Linked DNA regions of Homo sapiens: regions 1, 3 and 4 are each linked to region 2. The links are contacts of gene promoters, found by promoter capture Hi-C in human tissues and cell types (Jung and others, 2019). All regions are on one chromosome and are shown on one strand. Each heading gives the region's core, a stretch centred on a gene start or on the middle of the fragment in contact. The rest is flanking DNA. Distances are from core to core; before and after follow the strand shown.

The links. The method cuts DNA at HindIII sites, captures the fragments that hold promoters and counts their contacts. A contact is called where the count stands out against the background at its distance.
Region 1: a fragment that was not itself captured here is called in contact with the fragment with the promoter of ZNF442 in region 2 in 4 of the 25 tissues and cell types used here (dorsolateral prefrontal cortex, hippocampus, mesenchymal stem cells and 1 more).
Region 3: a contact is called between a fragment that was not itself captured here and the fragment with the promoter of ZNF442 in region 2, in 6 of the 25 tissues and cell types used here (adrenal gland, dorsolateral prefrontal cortex, heart left ventricle and 3 more).
Region 4: a contact is called between a fragment that was not itself captured here and the fragment with the promoter of ZNF442 in region 2, in 2 of the 25 tissues and cell types used here (hippocampus and lymphoblastoid cells).

What each region holds. Positions count from the first base shown.
Region 1 is chr19:11,758,362-11,761,531 of GRCh38, forward strand. No RefSeq gene overlaps it. Among named protein-coding and RNA genes, the nearest start is that of ZNF441, 7.1 kb to the right of the region's middle. The HindIII fragment of the contact is 5,499 bases long and covers 1-3,170 here.
Region 2 is chr19:12,364,378-12,367,644 of GRCh38, forward strand. ZNF442 (zinc finger protein 442) reads right to left here and starts at 1,306. Exons shown (of 6, transcript NM_030824.3): 1 at 1,156-1,306; 2 at 425-866. RefSeq lists a silencer at 840-1,019 and an enhancer at 1,120-1,219. The HindIII fragment of the contact is 16,775 bases long and covers 1-2,311 here.
Region 3 is chr19:11,844,235-11,847,125 of GRCh38, forward strand. No RefSeq gene overlaps it. Among named protein-coding and RNA genes, the nearest start is that of ZNF439, 3.0 kb to the right of the region's middle. The HindIII fragment of the contact is 5,747 bases long and covers 1-2,891 here.
Region 4 is chr19:11,783,834-11,787,017 of GRCh38, forward strand. ZNF441 (zinc finger protein 441) reads left to right here. Exons shown (of 4, transcript NM_152355.3): 4 at 1-245. Among named protein-coding and RNA genes, the nearest start is that of ZNF491, 13 kb to the right of the region's middle. The HindIII fragment of the contact is 7,851 bases long and covers 1-3,184 here.

The DNA.
Region 1 (3,170 bases), core at 180-2,679, 610 kb before region 2:
GAGTGAATAAATTTAAGCCAGGATTATTCTTTTTTATTTATTTATTTATTTATTTATTTTGCTTGTTTTAAAATTTTCCTGTCTTTTTTTTTAGACGGAGTCTTGCACTTTCGCCTGAGCTGGAGTGCAATGGCATGATCTCGACTGACTGCAACGTCCTCCTCCCGGGTACATGCGATTCTCCTGCCTCAGCCTCCTAAGTAGCTGGGACTACAGGTTCACACCACCACGCCTGGCTAATTTTTTGTATCTTTAGTAGAGACAGGGTTTCACTATGTTGGCCAGACTGGTCTCGAATTCCCGACCTCCTGAACTGCGCCCCACCCCCCCACCCTTTCAAAGTGCTGGAATTATAGGTGTGAAAAATTTCCTGTCACTTTAAGAATTATTCCAAAGACATATCTTTCTCTTCCTAGGGCAAATTACCTTAGATTTCTTCTGGGAATTTTGTACTAATCTTTAATGTTTTGGTCTTCCCATTTCATTCCTAAAATGTAGACCCAGAAGAATCACTATATATTATTATAAAATTACATTGAGGCCGGGGGCGGTGGTTCACGCATGTAATCCTAGCACTTTGGGAGGCCGAGGTGGGTGGATCGTCTGAGCTCAGGAGTTCGAGACAAGCTTGGGCAACACAGTGAAACCCCGTCTCTACTAAAAAATACAAAAAAATATTAGCCGGGCATGGCGGCGTGCGCCTGTAGTCCCAGCTACTCGGGAGGCTGAGGCAGGAGAATCAGTTGAACCCAGGAGGCAGAAGCTGCAGTGAGCCAAGATCGTGCCACTACACTCCAGCCTGGGTGACAGAGCAAGACTCCATCTCAAAAAAAAAATAATAATAAATAAAAATAAAATTATATTAAAAATGTAAGATTTTATGTAGACTGCAGTTATGGATGATTTATTCACCAAACCACAGTTGACTCTTCAACAACACAGGTTTGAACTGCATAGATCTCCTTACATACAAATTTTCTTCAGTTTCTGCTACTACTGAGACAGCAAGACCAACCCCTCCTCTTATTCAGCCTACTCAATGTGAAGACAATAAGGATGATAACATTTATGATGCTCCACTTCTACTTAATGAAATAGTAAATATAGTTTTTTCTCCTTGTGATTTTCTGATTAACATTTTTCTCTGCCTTAGTTTATTGTGAGAAAACAATATGTAATGCATATGACATATAAAATATGTGTTAATTGAATGTATATCTTACCAGTAAGGTTTCTGGTCAACAGTAGGCTATTAGTAGTCAAGTTGCGGGGGAGAAAAAAGTTATTTGAAGATTTGTGACTGCATTGAGGGCTGGTGCCCCTAATCCCTGCATTGTTCAAGGGTCAAACGTATTTCTTTTATATTCTAAATCTTTGAACAGCATTGGTGACGAAGAAACAAATATTCGTAATTGACTAAGTAAAGACATGATGTCCCCCTTACCTATACAGTCTAGGTTCCTGATGGTTTCCCGTAGCACATCTCTGTAGAGACTCTTCTATGATGGACCCAGCAAAGCCCACTCCTCCCAGGCAAAAGATCAAAGCCACATCCTCAAAGGCCACTGAGTCCTGAAACACCCGACACGTGCAGAGGAGGAAAGCTGAAACTGACAGCACTGGGAATCTGTACTCACTACATAAATGTCACATGATGCTGTGGTGTCCAAACATTTATGCAACGACACGGTAATCCAACTCTTACCCTCTTTCTAAACTCATTTTCTCCCAGAATGCAATTCTAATGCTAGAATTAAACGTGTTTGGTAAAATAACAGTCGAATTATAAAATGCCACTCCTTGGTGAGTTAAAGGAGTGACATTTATTGCCTAGATCACCCCTAATATCTATGTGTACAGGATGTTTGTAATTCCTGATGTGACAAAGTCCTCCTACCTAATGGGCAGAAGAGTTAACATCAGCTGTCCTGAGACCGCATATTGTTACAAATGCTTGCTCACAAAGTTGAACCTTTCACTATATCTAGGAACTAAATTTAGTTAGGGGGCTTCACCAACATAAGCGATAATGGAGGATGAGTGTCCCTAAACTATGTAAAAAATATGGTATCTGCTGAACTCCTATGTTCCCTCTGAGAGTTCAAACTTTTGTGATATGCTTGGCAGAGGGAGCATACCTGATCATTCACTACTAGGTTTTTTGCTTGTTTTTGTTTTTGTTTTTGTTTTTTTTGAGACAGAGTCTTGCTCTGTCTCCAGGCTGGAGTGCAGTGGCGCAATCTCGGCTCACTGCAACCTCCGCCTCCTGGGTTCAAGCGATTCTCCTGCCTCAGCCTCCCGAGTGGCTGGGATTACAGGCGCACACCACCATGCCCAGCTAATTTTTGTATTTTTAGTAGAGACAGGGTTTCACCATGTTGGCTAGGATGGTCTCGATCTCTTGACCTCGTGATCCACCCACCTCAGCCTCCCAAAGTGCTGGGATTACAGGAGTGAGCCACCGCGCCCGGCCATTCACTGCTAGGTTTGAATGTTTGTCCCCTCCAAAATGCTTGTTGAAACATAATCGCCAATGTGGCACTAATGAAAGGTGAGGCCTTTAAGAGGTGAGTAGATCTTAAGGGTTCAGACCTCATAAATAAATTAATCCATTCATGAATTCATGGCTTACTGAATTAATGAGTTATCTCAGGAGTGGGACTGATGGCCATATTAAAAAAGAAGGGAACCTGAGCTACCACATTCAGCCCATTCTCCATGTGATACCTTCAACCACCTAGAAACTCTGCACAGCCCCCATGACCAAGAAGGCTTTCACCACATGAAGCCCTCTTACTTGCTAGGTTCCAGAACTATAATAAATAATTTTTTTTGTTGTTTTTTGGCTTTTCTTTTTAGATGGACTCTTGCTTTGTTGCCCAGATGGGAGTGCAGTGGCACGATCTCGGCTCACTGCAACCTCTGCCTCCTCCTGGGTTCAAGCAATTCTCCTGTCTCAGCTTCCTTAGTAACTGGGACTACAGGTACATGCTACCACACTTGGATAATTTTTGTATTTTTAATAGAGACAGGGTTTCACTATGTTGGCCAGGCTGGAAGAAATATTGTTTTTTAAATAAATTACTCAGCTTCTACTATTCTGTTATAAGCAACAGAAAACATACTAGGATAAGCATGAAAAAACCACTCACCACTGGGTCTCTTATGAG
Region 2 (3,267 bases), core at 56-2,555:
GCCTGGGCAACAAGAGCACAACTCCATCTCAAAAAAAAAAAAAAGAAAGAAAGAAAAAAAGAAGCCATCCATTGCTCTCTGAAAACAAAATGAAAATTAAAATACTGGGACTCTGAAATTTAGCACGGGTGGGGCGGAGGAGGGAGGAGTTCATGATGTTGCTGTGAACTGAGGAGGGAAAGTTAGCCTGCGTAAGGCTCTGGAAACCAAGGGAGTTACTACCACCCCTAGGAGGAGTTAGAATGAGGGAACAGGGTAGTGGATTTGAGACCCTGCTACCCCCATCTCTGAAAAACTCGAAGAGGAATCAGTCACCCTGGGAAGAAAAGAAGGGACTGGGGACCCCGCAGACCACAGCTCCTCCCGTGCACAAACCCCACGCAAGAATCTGGATTCTGATTGCAGTTAGATATTAACCAGGTACCCTGAGCCCCACTGCCTCGCGGGGGCCGCCTTCCTGAGAGTCAGGTCACAGAAGACACTGACCGCCGGCTTCTGCATTGTGCCTGGGGATAAGATCTCGGAGAGCTGCTCGAGTTGCCCAAGTTCTTTCTCAGATCTTGAATTCCAACGGAAAGGCTGGCGCCAAGCAGGGTGAAAACCCCACGAGGGAACCCACTCAGCAGGAGAATGCGGTTTCTTCACCTCCCGTCCCAGGATTCGCCTGTCACTTCCCCACCAACCAGCGACCCCACACTTCAGCCGCCCCTGTCCAGACCCCTAAACACCCCCATCCCCAAACCTCTCATGGAGGCGGAACTGGGGTCTTCTCTCCTCTCCCCCTATTAAACTGTTTCTGCTGCAGGCCTTGGAGTCTCGGTGCAGTGACTCGGACCGCGAACCTGTGCCGGTTACAGCCGCACAATCTGGGAAGACGCGGAGCTGTGGGCATGGAGCTGCCCCAGAGAGGGCGCGGGAGCCGGGGCCGCAGTTGCTGCGCAGAAACGGGACAGGACGCCCGGGGTCCCGGCTGCCGGCCCAGCCCCCAGCTCCCACCCCGCGGCCGAGGGGACTGAAGGCCGGCTGGGCCAGGGGAACTCGGGTCCACAGACCCCGCAGTCGCCGCGGGGACGCCCGGGTCCCGCCACAGCCGGTTCTGGCCGGTTCCAACCAGTCCTTCGCCCTGCCCCAGGACGCCGGGCCCCGCACACTCACCATTTCCCGGCTTCCGCGGTGTCCCGTGTTCTCCCCAAGGTTCCCCGCTGCCAGCATAGGACTCAGCGTGACAGTGCCTGCCACTGACCTGCCAGGGCTTCTCTCAGCTACAGAGCCAGGAGCGGGAGCTCAGAGGGGTGTAGAAAGCTCCACCCTCCTCCCGGCAGCGCGCCTGACTGGCAGTTCCCAAGAACTCGCCCCCAACACTGATTGGGTAGAGCTCCAAATTCCGCCCCCCCAGGGAACTGATTGACAGAAGAAGGATCTTACACGGCTGAGTGGAGCGAGATGAAGCGGTTCCAGACACAGCCCTTGATAGGGTGGGCTTCCTCCCTTCGCTGTGACCTGACCCCTCCCAGGGGACATTTGCATTTAAGCGGAATTTCCTGCCTGTACTCAATGGGCTCTTCCTGCTCCTTCTTCCTGGACGGGGACCCACAAGTGTGTGCTGGGAATTCGAGACTCACTGCCCAGTGGAGCCATCCCCTGGCCTCAGAGCGGTAGGGGAGGCCCAGGCCACACAAACCACACTGAAGCAGGAGGGAAGGCCTGGTGTCCTCCAGGGATCAGGAATTTAGGATGAGACTGCTGGCTCCATGGTCAAGCCTTTCTCCCACCTTATCTCCCAATCTACTCATTCTCAGACCAGAAAATAAAAACACATCAACAATGAAATAAAATTGTTAAATGCATGGAAAATCTGGAATTATATGGCAGTAATCTTCTATAAAGGAATCAAAAGAAGGGAAAAGAAAAAACCTGAATTAGTTCAGAGAAATTTCAGCCACAGTTCAGCAGGAAACCCCCTTTCAGGAGGTTAAACATATTTTCAAGCTTAGAAGGCAGATTCTGACTCCTGAAGTTGAGTCCCAGAGTGTGTAACCAGCAGCTTAGCAGCTGAGTCTCAAACCACGTTTTAAACCTTTTTTTTCTTCTTCTTTCCCTTTTCCTCTTTCCCCTCCTGATCTCAAGATAATAACTTCGAGATAAACTGCATAGATGTTACCTCTCATCTTAAAATACAGCCTCAGAATGTGCTGTGAACTTCCACTCCCTTTCCTTTCCCATACTACACTGCCATGCCTTATGCACATTTATTTTTATTTTATTTTTTTGGAGACGGAGTCTCACTCTGTCACCCAGGACAGACTGTAGTGGCTCAATCTTGGCTCACTGCAACCTCCGCCTCCCAAGTTGAAGCAATTCTCCTGCCTCAGCCTCCCGAGTAGCACACTGGACTACAGGTGCACGCTGCCATGCCCAGCTAATTTTTTTGTATTTTAGTAGAGACAGGGTTTCACCATGTTGCCCAGGCTGGTCGTGAACTCCTGAGCTCAGGCAATCCGCCGGCCTCGGCCTCCCAAAGTGTTAGGATTACAGGCGTGAGCCACCACGCCTGGCCTGTGCACATTTATTTACCTAAATACTTATTAAGCACACACCATGCTCTCTTATTTGGTCATATATTTCCTTAGAAGCTTCAGGGGTTGGATCTTGTTAGGTACCAGGCACCTCTGGAATTCTCTTTCCAACAAAAGATTACTTCAAAGACAGAACCCACACCCAGCTGAAGAGTGACTACTATCGGGGAAACCAGCCCCCAATATTTCAACGTAGGTTCTATTTTCCCTAAGTGTCGGCCCATCTGAGAAATTAAGAGAAAGAGTACAAAGAGAAGAATTTTACAGCTGGGCCTCCAGGGGTGACATCACATATCGGCAGGTTCCATGATGCCCACCTGGGCTGCAAAACCAGCAAGTTTTTATTAGGGATTCTAATAGGGGAGGGGGTGTACGAACAGGGAGTAAGTCACAAAGATCACATGCCTCAAAGGGCAATAAAAGATCACAAGGCAAAGGCAAAATTAGAATTACTGATGAGGGTCTGTGTCCTGCTGTGCATGCACTGTCTTGATAAACATCTTAACAGGAAACAGGGTTCGAGAGCAGACAACCAGTCTGACTAGAATTTACCAGGCTGGAACTTCCCAATCCTAGTAAGCCTGAGGGCACTGCAGGAGACCAGGGCGTATTTCAGTCCTTATCTCAACTGCATTAAGACAGATACTCGCAGAGCAGCCATCTATAGACCTACCCCCAGGAATGCATTCCT
Region 3 (2,891 bases), core at 38-2,537, 520 kb before region 2:
TACTTAGAGGCCGGGTGCGGTGGTTCATGCCTGTAATCCCAGTACTTTGGGAGGCCAAGGCAGGAGGATCCCTTGAGCCCAGGAGTTTAAAACCAGCCTGGGCCACACTGGGAGACCCTGTCTCTAAAATAAAATGTATACTTACAAGCCCTAAACCCCAACAGGGTCATATTTGGACACAGACCTTTTAGGAGATCACATACATTTATAAAGGAGAGCCCTCATAATGGGATTAGTAAGAAGAGAGAGAATTCTCTGTTTCTCCAGCATGGGAGGACAAAGCAAGAAGGCATCTAGCTGTAAGCCAGGAAGATAGCCTTCACTGGGAACAAAATTGCTGGCAGCAAGATTTTGGACTTCCCGCACTCCAGAATTGTGAGAAACAAATGTTTGCCGTTTAAGAAACTGAGTCCATGGTATGAGTCCATGGTATTTTGTTATACCAGCCTGAGCTAAGTCACCCCAAGAGTCCTCACATTAACCATATACTGTCGTACAAGTGCTGCATTTGGATCTACCTGGAATGTCTCCAAGTCTTCTACTTTTCCTCTTGGACCCATTGTGAGAATAGGTTTTGCTTCATAGGCAACTGCTGGTGATAGTAGTGATAGCCCATAACAACTAGGGAGTTAAAGAAACTTCCTTTCTCTCTCTCTCTCTCTCTGTTTTTGAAATGGAGTTTTTGCTCTTGTTGCCCAGGCTGGAGTGCAATGGCACGATATCGGGTCACTGCAACTTCTGCCTCCTGGGTTCAAGTGATTCTCCTGCGTCAGCCTCCCGAGTAGCTTGGATTACAGGTGTGCACCACCACGCCTGGATAATTTTCGTTTTGTTAGTTACAGACGGGGTTTCACCATGTTGGCCAGCTTGGTCTCGAACTCTTGACCTCAGGTGATCCACCTGCCTTGGCCTCCCAAAGCGCTAAGATTACAGGTGTGAACCACTGTGCTCGGCCTCTTTTATATGTGTGTGTATATATATATATTCTCTTTTTTAATAAAAGTAAATAGAAACTAGGTCTTACTATGTTGCCCAGGGTGGTCATAGCCCAAGATTTTGGGCTCAAGCGATCTACCCGCCTCGCTCACCCAAAGTGCTGAGATTAAGGCGTGAGAAACTGTGCCAGGCCAAATGAAAGAAACTTAGTGGGAGGCCTGGCACAGTGGCTCACACCTGTAATCCCAGCACTTTGGGAGGCTGAGGCGGGTGGATCACTTGAGCTCAGGAGTTCAAGACCAGCCTGGACAGCATGTTGAAACCCTGTCTTTACTAAAAATACAAAAAATTAGCCGAGCATGGTAATCCCATTCTCACAGTCATAGAAAGGTTCTTTTTTAAGGATTCTACCTACTTGAGAGCATCATATACTGCCAGCACTTGTTCACTTCAAGAGTGTCTGGTTTCATCTCTATGACATAATTACAACCAAAATCCTAAAGGAACTGATTTACCACACTGTGTTTGCCATAAGGCCCAATTTGTACCTGCAGCAGCAGCTGTATCATCCCAACTCACAGCTCTACCCTCTAAAGGTGTGCCTGAGGCTTGTGATCCAGTCCATAGGGAAATATCACTACCTGCTGTGTTTTATAATTGGACCATCCAAGGGTTGTCAGGGTTTTCCCAGAGAGTTTTGTGGGATTTTTTTTTTTTTTTGAGACCAGGTCTTGCTGAAGTTAGTATGGCAGCATACTAACACATTAACCTGTCGAAAGCTTCCTGCAGAGCTGTGTCCCAGTCTCAAAGTGCCCCTTTCTAATAATTCTATATATTGGTATCAAACTTTGGGCTAAGTGTCAGATAAATGCTCTCCAATAATCCAAAGACCAACAAATGTCTGGATTTCTTTTTTCTTTTTTGTTTTTTAAGAGACATAGTGTGGTTCTGTTTCCCAGGCTGGAGTGCAGTGGTGGGATCATATAGCTCACTGCAGAAACTCCTGGGATCAAGGGATCCTCCTGCCTCAGCCTCCCAAGTAGCAGGGAATAAAGGCACATGCCACCATGCCCAATTGTTTATAAATTTTTTTGTACAGATGGAGTCTCACTGTATTTTCCAGGCTGTTCTTGAACGCCCAGGCTCAAGTGATTCCCCAACCTCAGCCTCCCAAAGTGCTGAGATTACAGTCATGAACCAATGCACCCAGCCCTGAAAAGGAAATATTTCGAATGGAAATTCAAAGGGAGAACATCTAATGTTCAAGTTGATGTCTATAGAGCAGTTAACGGGAACTATCATTTAGGGTCTGTGGGATTCTAGGACACTAGGTATGAAACAAATATGAGGAAGGTCAGAGAACAAGCTGACTTAATGATTAATGCTGAAGGTGCTGCCAGCTTGGTTTAAGTTTTCCTCCTCCCTTCCTCCCTGATGAATTTGATAAAGTTTAAAGGGATGGTTTCACCAGGGGCCTTTTACATTGACAGCAAGGAGGTCATCCGCCTGGTAAATCCTCAGTAGTCCAAGCCTCTTACATGGCTAGAATGATCCAGTCCATAAGGAAACGTCACCACCCTCTGTGTTTTACAATTAGACCATCCAAGGGGGTCAGGGTTTCCCCAGGGAATTTGGTGGGATTTTTTTTTTTTTGAGACCGTGTCTTGCTGAAGTACAGTAGCCTGATCAAAGCTCACAGCAGCCTCAAACTTTGGGGCTCGAGTAATCCTCCTGCCTCAGGCTCCTGAGTAGCTGAGACTAAGGGTACACACCACCTCTCCAGGCTAATAAAAAAAAAATTATGGAGATGGGAGTGTCTCACTTCACTGCTCAGGGTGGTCTTCAACTTCGGGCTTCAAGTGATCCTCCCACTTTGGCCTCCTAAAATGTTGGGATTGCAGGTGTAAGCCATGGCACCCGGCCTCCCAGGCTGTTGTTGAAAGGTCTTTGCAATC
Region 4 (3,184 bases), core at 166-2,665, 580 kb before region 2:
TTAGAAAGCATACTAGAGTGAACTATAGTTAGCAAAAATATATTGCATATTTCAAAGTAGTTGGAAGAGAGGACTTGAAATGTTACCAACACATAGAAGTGGTAAATACTCAAGATCATGGATACCCCAAATACGCTGACTTGACCATTACACATTCTATGCATGCAAGAAATGCTCATGTGTACCTTATATATATGTAAAATATGTATCAATAAAAGAAAATATATAAGATAGTTTTAAAATAACACTATTGTCAGGTGTCTGTGGGCTGAGGAACAGCCTAAGGTGTAAACTTAAGTTCTTCTCAGGTCTTTTCTTAGTTGCACCTGTCCCTGGGCATGTGTGGTAACTGTCTAATTTTCTCTGCATGTATGGTTATTTTTGCACAACCTAATCTTCAGTGGCTCTCAAAAGGAGAGGAATAAAAGCATTAAGGGAAAAATAAAAGGCACCAGCCTGGAAGTCACTTCAGATGGAGGGGAAGGGCCTTCAAAAAATGGAGAGAGATGCAGCAGCAACAGTCACCACCACTTCTTTGTCTGTAACTCTGTGATCAGAAGCAACAATTATCAAGCAGTGCGCAGATCCCCAATATTTGGAAGACAGGTCCTTTTTGTCCACCCTGGCCCCCCAAAACTGCATGCAGACTGCTGTTAGAACTTATGCATAGCTACCTGTCATGGAGCTGAGGAGGGGGAATGAGTCAGGGCTGCTGACTCAACTAAGAGTTGAAATTGACCGAAATTAACCCAATTTTATTAGCCAATTATTTCCCTGGAAGCTGCAAGCTTTTAATAGTATCCGCAGTTTCAAAATAGCTACATGAGTTGGATTCTGCCAATGCAAATCCAGGTGGGGGATACAGATTCTTCATGCTTTTTATTCTGCCATCTTCCTTGAATCCTCTGACCTGACTTTTTATACTAATACATTACTTCAGGTCCCATCCCACATGTCACCTCCTCAGCAAGTCTTTCTGTCACCTCAGTTACTCCTTTCCATATATACATTTTTTTTAATACACTTTTCAGAGTCAGGGAAATCCGATTAGGTTCACAGACTTTACTGCTTTCTTAACAACCTATGAAAAGTCAAATCATATAAATGAACCAAACTGAATAGTGTCACTGTTACTTTTATGAAGTGTTATCCCGTAGATTTAAAAAAAAAGAAAGAAAGCCGGGCGCGGTGGCTCACGCCTGTAATCCCAGCACTTTGGGAGGACGAGGAGGGTGGATCACCTGAGGTCAGAAGTTCAAGACCAGCCTGGTCAACATGGTGAAATCCCGTCTCTACTAAATATACAAAAATTAGCCGGGCGTGGTGGCAGGCGCCTGTAATCCCAGCTACTCGGGAGGCTGAGGCAGGAGAATCGCTTGAACCCGGGAGGCAGCGGTTGCAGTGAGCCGAGATCGCACCATTGCGCTCCAGCCTGGGCAACAAGAGCGAAACTTCGTCTCAAAAGAAAAAAAAAACTGCTTTGCACCGATTTGCAGAAAAAGAGACAACGAACTCCCTCTCGTGGTGAGGATGGCATTAACATCCACACATAACTCCTTTAGGGTGTGGATTTCTGAATTGTGCTGAGATCTCCAGAATTTACAGCAAGTGATGGTCAGTTTAAAATATTCTGTGCCTTCAATGAAGAAGTAGTGTAGCAGGTTAGGGAGAAGAGAAGCAAATAAAATGGATGAGGTCCTCACTTAGTATATCACAATCTCTCCTGGAAGACTATTTATTTATTTATTTTTTTGAGACGGAGTCTCGCTTTGTCACCCAGGCTGGAGTGCAGTGGCGTGATCTCGGGTCACTGCAAGCTCCGCCTCCCGGGTTCACACCATTCTCCTGCCTCAGCCTCCCGAGTAGCTGGGACTACAGGCGCCCGCCACCACGCCCAGCTAATTTTTTGTATTTTTAGTAGAGACGGGGTTTCACCGTGTTAGCCAGGATGGTCTCGATCTCCTGACCTCGTGATCCACCCGCCTCGGCCTCCCAAAGTGCTTGGATTACAGGCATGAGCCACCGCGCCCGGCTCTGGAAGACAATTTCAAATGAATAAATCAAGGAACATGAGAGAGCCACAAGGGAGTTCAACCTGAGTCCAGTTAGACTCCTTGAAAGGGAAAGCTATTTACAGAATACTTCGGATTTAGCTGCGGAAATGATTTGATGGGTCAGTGGTGGTGGAGTGAGGTTGAGACCATTTAAAATAGGTGACGTAAACATGTGAAACCTCAGACACAGAGCCCTTGGTGTTAACCATGATCTGTTGAAAGTCAGAAGAATGAAGCAGAGGGAATTGTTGGAAGCTCACATTTGATTAGCTTTTTTACATATAACATGTGTTGACAAGGCCGGGAGCGGTGGCTCACGCCTGTAATCCCAGCACTTTGGGAGGACGAGGAGGGTGGATCACCTGAGGTCAGGAGATCGAGACCATCCTGGCTAACACGGCGAGACCTCGTCTCTACTAAAAATACAAAAAATTAGCTGGGCGTGTTGGCGGGCGCCTGTAGTCCCAGCTACTCGGGAGGCTGAGGCAGGAGAATGGTATGAACCCAGGAGGTGGAGCCTGCAGTGAGCCGAGATGGCGCCACTGCACTCCAGCCTGGACAACAGTGCGAGACTCCATCTCGACAACAACAACAACAAAAAACAATGTGTTGACGTAGAAATTATTTATTGATGTATTTTTCTCAAACTAATAATTATTTTGAAGGGTTTTTTTTCCACCATGTAAACATAACCAACTCCCAGGAGCTTCCATGTGTATATGCTTAAATGTATAATATGTGTAAAAGTTCTATCAGACTTAAATCATCCATTTATCACACTTTAAACACCTATGAATGACCAGCCTGGGCAACATACCAAGACCTAATTTCTACCAAAAAAATTTTCTTTCTAATGATCCAGGCATAGTGACATGTACCTGTAGTCCTAGCTACTCCAGAGGATGAGGTGGGAGGATTGCTTGAGCCTAGGAGGTTGAGGCTGCAATGATCCGTGATGGCATCACTGCACTCCAGCCTGGGTGACACAGTGAGACCCTGTCTCAAATAGAAGAAAATGTCAAATAAGATGAATGTGATTGCTTAAACTCTTCCACACAGAAGAATTTATCAAGATGGTCTTCAGAGGTATATCATGAGGAAGCAGTACAGTGCAATGAGGAAAAAACAAC